Regions from separate parts of the Homo sapiens genome. Here all the other regions are linked to region 1. Evidence: promoter capture Hi-C in human tissues and cell types (Jung and others, 2019). All regions are on one chromosome and are shown on one strand. The core of a region is centred on a gene start or on the middle of the fragment in contact, and the rest is flanking DNA. Distances in the headings are between cores, read along the strand shown. Region 1 holds the start of GPR61 (G protein-coupled receptor 61). Region 2 holds the start of GSTM1 (glutathione S-transferase mu 1). Region 3 has its middle 7.0 kb from the start of GSTM5.

The links. Contacts are between HindIII fragments. The study calls those that stand out against the background at their distance.
Region 2: the fragment with the promoter of GSTM1 here is called in contact with the fragment with the promoter of GPR61 in region 1 in 1 of the 25 tissues and cell types used here (mesenchymal stem cells).
Region 3: a fragment that was not itself captured here is called in contact with the fragment with the promoter of GPR61 in region 1 in 1 of the 25 tissues and cell types used here (spleen).

What each region holds. Positions count from the first base shown.
Region 1 is chr1:109,538,614-109,542,494 of GRCh38, reverse strand. It overlaps GPR61 (G protein-coupled receptor 61), which reads right to left and starts at 2,623. Exons shown (of 2, transcript NM_001393907.1): 1 at 2,542-2,623; 2 at 1-73. RefSeq lists enhancers at 2,109-2,608, 2,609-3,110. The HindIII fragment of the contact is 6,013 bases long and covers 1-3,881 here.
Region 2 is chr1:109,685,801-109,689,587 of GRCh38, reverse strand. GSTM1 (glutathione S-transferase mu 1) reads right to left here and starts at 1,771. Exons shown (of 8, transcript NM_000561.4): 1 at 1,679-1,771; 2 at 1,343-1,418; 3 at 851-915; 4 at 459-540; 5 at 263-363. The coding sequence starts at 1,714. RefSeq lists an enhancer at 1,672-1,721. The HindIII fragment of the contact is 14,943 bases long and covers 1-3,787 here.
Region 3 is chr1:109,703,227-109,707,204 of GRCh38, reverse strand. No RefSeq gene overlaps it. Among named protein-coding and RNA genes, the nearest start is that of GSTM5, 7.0 kb to the left of the region's middle. The HindIII fragment of the contact is 8,634 bases long and covers 1-3,978 here.

The DNA.
Region 1 (3,881 bases), core at 1,374-3,873:
TAGTTTCTAGTCCCAGTTCTGGGCATTACTAACTCTGTGAATCTTCTGAATTTCAGTTTCCTCATAAATCCATCTGTAAAATGAAAGGAAGAACACTTGCTTCACAACTGTGTTTCTGGATCCTGCGTGATTTGTTAATAATAATACTAATGACAAGCAGTAGCATTGATACGGCGTTTTCCACATGCCAGACCCTGTTCTCAGCACTCTACCTATATTAACTCATTTTATTCCTCACACAACCCTATGAAGTAGATAATATTTTTATCTCCATTTTGCAAGAGATGAAGCTGAGGTCTAGAAAGGTTAAGTAACTTACCCAAGGTCGCACAGCTAGTAAGCGGCAAGGGCTGGGCACCTACCTGGGCAGTCTGGCCCCAGGTCCAGTACTCTTGCCCACTGTGCCATGCCATATGTGAAGGTGCCCTCCGTGCCGGCTGGACTATAATAGGCATCCAGTAAATAGTTGTTGAATTTCAGCTGTCTCTAAAACTGTCTCTTGCTGCCCTAGGGTTATCATCTGAAAAGGGGAGCTGTGCTTTAGGCTCTTTTGACATCACTACTCCCAGCACAAAGAGCTGCCACTTTGGGAATGTTGAGTAGGAGCAGTGAAAACAAAATGTCCCGTCTGGAAGGAAACTGGGAGGCCAGCTCATCCAGCCTCCACTGCTCCCAAAGCCGGAAGTTGCTTCAAGCTGCCCTTCTCCACCCACTCATGAACTCTTCAAGGCCACTGTGCCCCTCTTGTGGGAAAGGAGCTGCTGCCAACCTCCTGCTCCCCAGATCCCCAAATCTCTGATCTCTGGAGCTGACCCTTGGAGGATCCCTGACCAAGAGCCGCATTGGTTCTAGACTTACTACAGTCACAGAACAAGAAGTAGGGAGGAGACACTGAGGTTGCTCAGTTTAAAAACCCATCATTTCTATGGCTGCAATAAAGAGGATCACATGGCAAGATGGGCCCCACTCTCCTCCACAGTTATAGCCTTACAGTCACCTTTGGTTTTTGGTGTTTCCATAAACCTTACACCAATCCAACTTCTAACATGCTATGCATGCAATAGGTGCTGAATACAATTTTGTGAATTGAATCAAACTCAAATTGGTAGTTGAATCCCTGCCCCCTAGGACAAACTCCAAGAACACTCAGTCAGCCAGCTGTGTGCCAGCCAAGGGACTCTCTTGTGGAAAGGGTAGCCGGGGTTCCTGGACTTGAGGAAGCCCTAACTTTGGGCAACTGCCTAGAGACGTGCCTCTCTCTAGGGACACAGAAAGCTCATTTCACAGTTAAGATGCCCACAGAGACTTAGAGTCTGCAGAGAAGTTGAAGAGCGGGCACAAAAGTGAGACATCAGCTTCTCATTAGAGTCTACCAGGAAAAATGCCTGAAAGAAATGCTAGGAGAAGCATCCTTCCTTCTTACTCTCCATGCTCTGATTTACCTATCCCTTCTGTCTGTGAGTGAGGCCCAGAGGATGTGGTTCAGAGTCCCTCCCTGGTGGCTGAAGGAGGAGAGGCCCACCATGTCTGGATGGACATCAAGAGTCCCAGACGGAGGGAAGCAGACCTGGTTTCCACGTGGAGCTGGAGGGATGCCACGAAGCCATGATGGAGCCCTGAGCAAGAAGGCATTGGACATTGCTCTTTTTCATAGCTCCCTCAAGCTTGCCAGTGTCTCCACAGTGACTCCTAAATGCCAGGATTCCAATTTACCTCTTAACAGACAGATCAGTGTATCTGGCTAATGGGCACTCCCTCACTAATGGACTGGGGTTATGGAGGGGAGGGCTGTGGTGTAACAGTTTCATAGGTGAAACCCAGGGAGCCTCACTCCTCTCCCAGGTCATATCATTATGCCTACTCCCCCAACAGATGCTTTCCTTCCCCCACTACTTACTTCCAACAGCACCCCTCTTACCTCCAGGACCTTCAGTACCTAGAAGGCTTTGCCACTAGGGCCTGAGGTCTGGGCCTCTAGCAGGGGCATGGTCAAGTTACAGGATGCAAGATGTGCATAAGTGCCCAGCCCAAGGCCACAGAGGTATTGGGATTCACATGCACCTGTTTTCCAGATCCAGAGCTTCCATCCCAAAGACCTGAGCCTGGCCTTCCTTCAGACAAGAGCGTGCCCCTCCTAAGCTAGGGAAGATTTCCAGGGAGCTACAACACCTCTCCTCAGCAGAGTTGCCCACGCCCAGGACACAGTTGCCCATCAGCCTGTATGCTGAAGGGCCCATTCCTAGAATGTGGGAGACCCATGTCCATGACATGGAGCAAGACAGATGGAGAATGCTGTTTGTCTGCAGGATGTGGGTACTCCTGCCGGCAGGAGATGATCAACCCCCCAGCTCTGGGCTTCAGAGATGCCCACACCCCAATACCGCCTTTGGGATACCTGAGAGCCCATCTCCTGATCAAACTGCTCACCGGAATGTAGGCAGGGCTGGTCCTTGGAAAGCCACCCTTCTGTGGGGATACCTTGGCACTCACCACCAGGCTCTGGGTCTGGCCCCCATTCCTGGCCTAGTCGGCAACTCCTACCTTTGCTGAGCAGTCCCGGCTCCCATGTGATAGCTCCTCTCAGCTGATGCTTCTCCAAGGCTGCTGAAGCCTGAAGCACTGCAGTGAGCGGTGAGAGGCAGCCGGCAAAGCAGAGTGCTCCGAGAGCCTCTGGGTCCTAATGGCCTCCTGCTTCCCACCCAGCCCCTCAGAGTCACTTCTGGAGCAAAAAGGTGGGCACCAATGCCCCAGGCAAGGTGCCTGGCAGTGAGCTCAACTCCTCTCACTTCTCTCAGGCTGCTGGATTGCGTCTCAAAAATTTCGTGGGGCCAGGAAATGATAGGTAGGGGAGACCCTCTTGACCAGCCTGATGAAGTAAAAAAAAAAGTACATGGAGTCAGAAAATCCAGGTTTAAGGCCTGGCTATGGCACTTACTAGCCGTGTGACCTTGGGCAAGTTGCATTTTGGCCTTGATTTCTTAGCAGTTCAAAGAGAAGATAGGAGAGATGCATGGTTCTGTGTGACATCAGAACCAAGGTGCTGATGCAGGCAGGTCAGCGCAGACCCAGGGCCCCAAGGCTTAGGCCAGGGAGGCGGCTGAGGCTCCAGGGGATGGTCCAAGGTTTGGCCCCTTTGGAAGCTGCCTAATGCGTATGGGGGACAGGTTTAGGAGCAGCACTCAGGTTTGAAGGGCAGCTGAAGGCTTTGTCTTAACCCTGCCCTTGCCTCCCAAAAGCACATTATTATTATTTGCTTAGATTGTATGTTTATTGGAACTGGGGCTGTGAGGGCTGATGGAGATTGGCAGGGAGGGGGCGGGAGGATCTAACATCCCCCCGAGCCACCATGGGAACCACCACAACACTGCTTCCTGAAGGAGACAGAGTGGGGGCCAGGGACTCAGGAATGCTCACACTGATCTGGATTTGTGGGACTGGACAGAGCTAGGTAGCATCAGCCACTGAGCATCGCCCATCTGTGGCATGATGGGCCTTCAGAGACGCAATGAAGGGGCATGGCCTCCCTCTAGCTATGAAGAAAATGATCATTTACCCGGGTACATGACTGATACCCAAGGATAGAATCCTAACATTGCAAAGCTGTAGGACATCCTACAGGCCAAGGTATCCATGTTTCTGAGACCCAGAGAGATAAAGAGATTGCTCAAAGCCACATAGCTCCACATGGCAGAGCCATGAGTCTAAACAGGGAATTCAGGCATGATCCCCTACTCCAGAGCCTGCTTCCCTGAGACTTGCCTATCTAGGGACTCCTTCTGCCTCTAAGAAGGAAAAAGGGAATTCTGGAATTGTTTACCAGACCCAACCCAAAGAGCCATAAGAACAATGAGTTACCCAAGGACCTCACTGGGACAAGTTGG
Region 2 (3,787 bases), core at 522-3,021, 150 kb before region 1:
TGAAGGAGATTCTGAACACAAACTTTACCATACAGGAACTGAATTTCTACCCTGGGATGCCTGGATCGTGTCCTAAGGTTGGTGGGAATTGCCTCTGCTTTTGTTGACATGACATTGGAGTCGTGAGAATAACTGCTGATAGTATGGGAAAGCACTTGGAGGATGAATGGTACCAGGGACTTAAGACCAGTGTGTGCAGGAATGCAAGAGTCCTGGCCCCAAATCCAAACTCTGTCAGATGCAGCTCACTGGGGACACTCACAAATTCTGGATTGTAGCAGATCATGCCCAGCTGCATATGGTTGTCCATGGTCTGGTTCTCCAAAATGTCCACACGAATCTTCTCCTCTTCTGTCTCCCCACCTGCCACCCACAAAACACAGACTCAATCTCAGCATCACAGCCCAGCCAAGGAGGAGGCCACCTTCCCCCCACACATTGCAGCCACCCACACTCACACAGGTTGTGCTTGCGGGCAATGTAGCACAAGATGGCGTTGCTCTGGGTGATCTTGTGAGCCCCATCAATCAAGTAGGGCAGCTGGATGGATGGGAAACCGGCGAAGCTCAGTTGGGCCACCAGGCTCCCCAGCATCCCCTTCCCATAAGCAAGAGCAGAGAGGAGACCGGGCACTCACTGTGCCTGCTCATGGCAGGACTGAAATAAGAATACTGTCACATGAACGAATGCAGGTGGACACAGAACATCATGGAAGGACTGTTTAGACAGCCAGGAGTGAGAGGAATTGGGCAGAAGACTCCTGATCTTAACACCTCTAAGCTGGGGAGAGGAGATGCAGTCAGAGACACGTTGCACTTTCCCCCAAAACCGCCCCTTCCCCTGCACCTACATTGGGAAAGTCCAGGCCCAGCTTGAATTTTTCATTCAGCCACTGGCTTCTGTCATAATCAGGAGCTGTGGTGGGGAAGAAGAAGTGAAAACAAACCTCCCCAGAGCCCAGCCCTCCTTCCCGGGGACCCTCCCACGGAGCCAGTGGCAAGATCCCTGAGACAGGTGGATCTAGAATCTGACCACTCAGTCCCACATCCCAGGGTTCAGGGACAAAGAATCCCGCTGAGGGCTCTGGACCCCACACAGCTAAGGCTTCCAGGGTTTAGGCAAGCCCTGAGGGACACCCGTCCCAATTAGACAGGGGGCCCAGCATCCCACCCCAGCATTCTGCCTTGCAAGGCCAGAGGGCTCCCTCACCGGGGCTCAGGGAAGAGACAGCCTGCAGCTCCAGCAGGGGAGGCCTGCAGAGGCAGCCACAGGTGGCCACCATGGGTTGCTTGGTGCCAACTTAGCGTGAGTGGGCAGAGCCCGAACACGAGGGTGCCATTACCGTCCCCCATCGTGTACTTCTTTTCCTCATAGCTTGAGTCTGTGTATTCCAGGAGCAGGCGGATGGCGTGGGCCAGCTGGGAGAGATGGCCCGCAGGTCGCGTCAGAGATGGAGGGTCCCTGACTTTGTCTGCACCAGGGAAGCCCCCAGTTTACACTGCACGTACCCGTTGCCTCCTCTACCCGCCCACACCCCCAACACACACACAGCGGCATGCACAGGCCCTTCTGAGGCGGGCAGCCCTGAAGAGGAACGGTCCCTAGAGTCCGTCCCGCAGCTGCTTCGCACTTCCCTCCCCTGCGCCCTCGTCCCACCGTCCAGCGGACCCTCGCTCACCCCGCGGATGTCCCAGTACCCCAGTATCATGGGCATGGTGCTGGTTGGTGCGGATTCCGCAGACAGGCCTAAACCGAGCAGGGCTCAGAGTATAAGAGCTCCGGAGAGGGGACAGGCGGGGCCTTGCTGCGACCCCGCCCCTCGGCCCGCCACAACCCGAAAGGCGCCATTCTGGAGGCCCGGGAGAGGGCGCCTGGGGCTGCACTCAGTAAGACTTCCTCCCGCCTCCCAGGCCCGAGGGTTCCGGGAGCGAAGTCAGGGCGCCCAGAAGCCCAAGGCGGGGCTCGGCCTCGCCAGCTTCCCTACCCAGCCCTGAGGCTCCACGAGTCCATCCAGCCCTTGCTAGGTCCACAGCGACTTGGCTGTGCGCTTGAGACACCAGCCAGATCCTAACGGAGCAAAGCTCTTCTCCCTTCTCCTCCCTGCCCGCGGTGTCCCTCAGCCTTCTCTCCGCTGCCGAGTTCCCAAGGGCTCTGGGAGACTCCGGCTGCAGGGGTCAGACTAAAAAGTGGTGGCCCCAACCTGGGAATTTAATTCAGCCCCTGTCACTGTAAGAGCAGGACTTCCTCTGATCCGAAAGCTACTCCCAGGGCTTAGTCTCCCCTCTAGCCCCGCCTACACAGGAACAGTGTCAGTGGTATAGGAAGGACCCCCAGGAAAAGGGCCAGAGTAAAGGAAATGTGGTCTGTGTTTTCTGTTAGGGGCCCTCGGGTACTGAGTCCTTCGGTCATCTGGCTAAGTACTGTGTAAATTAGCCACTTCGTATTTTGGCACAATTTATGAATCGAAATCCAAGGATCAGATCCAGCAAGTTGGTGAGGTATCTGAGGTGCCCCCTAGAAATGTCCAGCCAGTCCACTAGGTGAACCTCACAGAGACCGGAACAGCAACAGCAACAGTGAGTGCAGTGGCCACAGAGAGCAGGCGAGGGAGGATGGAAGAACTTCCCGGACCAAACTGAGGGTCCGGCTGCTATTTCTCTAGGCCCAATAACGAGATGCAGATCAAATGGGGAGGAAGAGAGGTTTTATTTCTGCAACCGGTAACAGGGAGAAGGCCTAGAAATTACCACCAGACCAACTCAATATTACAAAGTTTTCCAGAGCATATATACCTTCTAAGGTATATGTCTACAAGTAAGTGTGCATTCATCTAAAGACATAAGTGATTAACTTCTTTAATCTGTAACTGAGGTCTGGGTCCTGAGGACCTTATTCTGGAGCCTCAGTCTATTTATTTAATCTAAATGGGTCCAGGTGCGGGGGATGATTACCCTTATCTTGTCTCCTGCTAAATCACGGAGGTTTGGGGAGTTCCTTCAGACGCCCAATAAACTTGTTTGTGGAGGCCTGGGGAGTTTCTTCAGACTCACAATAAAACTTGTTTAATTCTAAATAGGTCCTGTTAAGAATTCCTTCATTGTTTTGTCATGCTTTAAGGCCCAGGAAAGGCCTAAGCAAAACTCTTGGTGGGCTTTTGTTACATCCAGCCTCTGTATAAAGGTACTGGCTTTTTTCAGCTTTTAATATTTAACTTCACCACTCAGTCAGTACTGAAACAGTTGTTATGGAGGCCTGTGTTAGTGACGCCTGGCCTGCCACAGAACCTGTCCCTCAGAGAAGCCAGAACCCTGTCCTGCTGAGGAGGGAGGTCAGAGGATGGTGGCCAGAGAGGAGCCTGAGGGCTCCCCACAGGACCACAGGCAGGGACCCTCCCCTCTCCAGATCCACCATTCCGGACCTGGACCTGGCTCCTGACCCATGTGTGTTCTTCAGTATGAGACGGTGGCTCCAGTGGCCTTTGAAGTCACACCGTGATATGTGACCCATGGTACAACCTCCACGAGAACAATGTCCAACCTGCCAACTTTCTTCTTTCAAGGTAGAAGGAAGACTTTCAAAAGAGTTGTGCAATGGATTAGCCTGGGGTTGACTGCTTTAAAGGATATTGCAAATAATAATGGACATATGGAAATAGATGATAGACCTTTAATGAGAAATCATTTTGCAATGTAAACCAGGCTGTTGTGCTGCAAAAAAAGTAGTTTTTTTGTTTTGTTTTGTTTTGTTTTGTTTTGTTTTGTTTTTTGTAAATTAGCTAAAACATTGT
Region 3 (3,978 bases), core at 1,351-3,850, 160 kb before region 1:
TAGAAATGGTGAGATTTTCAGGTTTGTAAGGAGAAAAAGAAAGGTAATTAGGAGAAGTGGGATTAGTTAGAGGGGTCTCTGTTGCCATTAGGGAGGATTGAATGAGATCCATTTTGATTTGGTGTGCCAGTTTTTGAGGAGTTGGCACAGATCTCACCAGGTATGAGGGCAGTCTCTGACGTGGACATCTCTTCCCTGTGTTTTTCATTGTCAGTATTCACACGAAGTTAAAGTCTTCTAGTGGGCACCCAGACAGGGGATTGATGATCTCCTGGTGAAACACAAGCATACCCTCTTCCCCACATTATAATTGTTCCAGGTTCCCAGGTATTTGTCTGGGAGTTTTTCCATAACACTGGCTTGCTTTCATTTAGGGAGAATTTTTTGCCTGTATAATGGTGTTCGGCTGCAGTCAGAGTATTGTCTTTAGGAACATTTAGAAAGTTTAAAGTAAACAATGCTAAATGGAATTGGGAGTGGGGAGTGGTTAAATTATGCTTTTAAACCATAAAGGAATTTAGTAATTCCTTCATGTTTTGGACCGAGACTGAGTCCAGGAACAGTCCCCACGTTTTCCATTATATGTTGACTGGGAGCACGAGAAGAGTTATGTGGAATATTAATTTCAGCCCCCCATTGTTCCAGCAAATATCTACCCCAAAGATTAATGGGGATTGGCATGATATAAGGCTGAATTGTTCCCTTTTGACCATCAGGCCCAGTGCAAGGCAAGATAAATGTGCTTTGGTGAACTTCATCAGCTTTTCCAACCCTTACTAGTCCCATGTTAGTGGGATGTTTAAGCCAGGAAGAAGGCCATAAATTAGAGGAAATAATAGAAACATCAGCCCCAGTATCTACTAGGCCCTCAAACTTTTTTCCTTTAATATGTATGGTGCAGGTGGGCTGTTGTTTAGAAATTACTTTAATCCAATAAGCGGCTTTTTCACCGCCAGAGCCCATCCCAGGGCCCCCTGTCTTATCTCCTTTGTTTAAAACAATATTAGGTAGTAAAAGTAGTTGAGCAATTGACTCACTGGCCGGAATGGAAACAGGAACCTTGGCAGACACGATTATTTTAATCTCATCAGAGGAATCAGAATTAATGAGACCAGTATGAACTATGATACCTTTAGCAGAGGTGGATGCCCTACCTAACACCAGGCCCACCAAACCTTGAGGTAAAGGGCCAGTGGCCCCCGTGGGGACAATTAAAGGCAAAGAATTCGGTAGTAAATTTAGAGGAGTGGTACTACAGAGATTGACCGCCCTGCCCCCTACTGTGGAGGTAGACAAGCATTGTACTGAGACAGAAGAAGCGACTGGGACCCATCTGGGTTGGCTGTAGGTAAATTTGCTTGTGCTGGGGGCTGTATTGGGACCGCTTGAAGCAGAAACACAATATTGGTCTGAGTCTGAGGTGTCCCATTTGATACTGGGGCCTGGGACTGGCCCTGCTTCCCATTTCCCTGGTTCTGTGGCAAGGGATTGCCATCTATATCAGACTTAGAGTGGCAAGTACTTGCCCAGTGTTTACCTTTACGACAATGAGGGCAAACAGTAGCAGGAGCATTTGGCCATGTTTGTTGAGCTGGCTTGGCCGCTTTTAACAGTGCAATTTTTTTGGGTATGATGAAGTTGACCACAATTATAGCAGGCTCCAAGAAAAGAATTCAGTCAAGCCAGTTTGATTGCCATCCTTCATGGCCCGTGCCCACAGAATAGCTTTGTGGGTCTCTGATCCAATGCTTTCACAAGCTTTAATATATGCAGGCACACCTCGTGATCAGGTAAATTTTGTCATTAGACAGAACGCATGACCACTTTACACTCATGGTTCGCATTCTCAAAAGCTAACATATGAAGGAGAATACCTTGAGCGTAATCATCAGAGACAGATTTTGAACAGCATCTTGTAATTTAGCCAAAAAATCAGGATGTAATTCACTGCGACCCTGTTTAACAGTAGTAAAAGAAACAGGAGCTTGGCCTGGGGCACCTAGTTTATCCCAAACTCTCATACACAACTTTGTTACTTGTTCCGTGGTGAGAGCGTCAAAGTCTAATTGGGCGGTAGTGTCAGAGTGATTATCAGAGCCTGTGAGCTGAGCCTGAGTAATTAGAATGCCATCAACCCAATTTAGCTGAGCCTGCAGACGGGCCTCCTCTGACCACCAGGTACAGAATTGTAAATGCTGAGATGGAGTTAGAACAGCTTTCGCCAAAAGGTCCCATTCTGAAGGAAGCAAAATGACCTCAGTACAAAGAGTCTGTAATGCCATTTTAACATATGGAGAAGCAGGACCATACTGAGCACAAGCATCCTTGAATTCTTTTGAAAAGGTAAGATTGAGCAGTGCATATCAACGCATTTGTACCCCTTGAGCATTGGGAGGTTCCAGCGTGACCGGATAAGCCCACACCTCTAATCCACTTGTTTCTTTGTTCTGGCGTAATAAGCATTGCATGGAAGTTTCAAGAGCAGGCACATGAGATGGAGTTGGCATAGAAGTGACAGTAAAAGTATGTGTAGATAAGGGAAACTGAGGTTCAGGAGGTCAGACCAGTATGAGAGTGTGAGAAAGGGGCATTGGGGGAGCAGAAGAGACAGAAGCATACTGGTGATTATTGGGAAATCCTGTGCAACCAGAGTGGCAGGGGCGTCCATGTGTGAAGAAGGGTACAGAGAAGCAGGTTGAGTGAATGGCAAAGTGACTGGTTGAGGGACCGAAATGACAGGAGGGTGAGGGGCTGCGGTGGGGGAGGGCCTGCAGAATTACAGGTAAATTGTAGTTTGGTCTGGAGCCATTAGATGGCTCTGGAGGCAAAGCCTGCAAAGATTTGAAAAGGGAAGAGTTAGCATAGATATGGTGCAGAGCTGTCCGAGTCAGGGCCATGGGAGCTACAAGTATCAGGTCTTCATGAAAAGAAATAAGACCATCGGGGGTGACATTAAGCCAAAGTCACCGGAGTTAGATATTGAATCCTCAATATCGTTAGGTGGGGGAGGAGTAGGCGAAGGGAGAGGCTGAGCAGATAATGAAGCCCGAGTGGGAGAGGAAAGCTGTGGAAGAGGTAGAAGGTCGCCAGATTCAGAAAACTGTGGTAACTGCAGGGGGTCACGGGATTGGTATGTCGTTAGGATGGCACATACCAAGGCCCAATCACCCCAAACAGTGAAGGGAACATAATTTCCTGATGGGATCAGTTCCTGGAATTTTGCACCAACGCGATCCCATAGTTCCACATCTAATTTTCCCTTTTCAGGAAACCAAGGACAGTGTTCTTCCAACACCCTGAATAGGGTGACCATATTTTCCATGGGCACCCAAACTCCACCCTGTTTTAACAGGAGTTTAATATAGCAGAGATAAGCATAATATTTAGACTCCATGTGACCCATAGTTACCCGAGACAATACATAGAAAATTCACCAATCATCAGGGAGCCGAACAAGCGTTTCTGAGGACTGGACTGATGATCGTTTCTCCACACCTACCAAAGGGAATCAGGTTCCCACATGCACTTAGGAAAAAGAAAACCATGTTGGTGCACCAGATATTGGGGGAACCTGCCCCCAGTATTTCAATGTAGGTTCTTTCTACTTTCCATAAGTGTCGGCTGGCTGAGAAATAAAGAGAAAGAGTACAAAGAGAGGAATTTTACAGCTGGGCTGCTGGAGGTGACATCACATATCAGTGGGACCGTAATGCCCGCCCGAGCCTCAAAACCAGCAAGTTTTTATTAAGGATTGCAAAAGGGGAGGGGGTGTACGAACAGGGGGTAGGTACGAAGATCACATGCTTTAAAGGGCAAAAAGCAGAACAAAGATCACATGCTTCTGAGGAAACAGGACAAGGGCAAAATAGAACTCCTGATAAGGGTCTATGTTCAGCGGTGCATGTATTGTCTTGATAAACATCTTAAACAACAGAACACAGGGTTCAAGAGCAGAGAACCAGTCTGACCACAAATTTG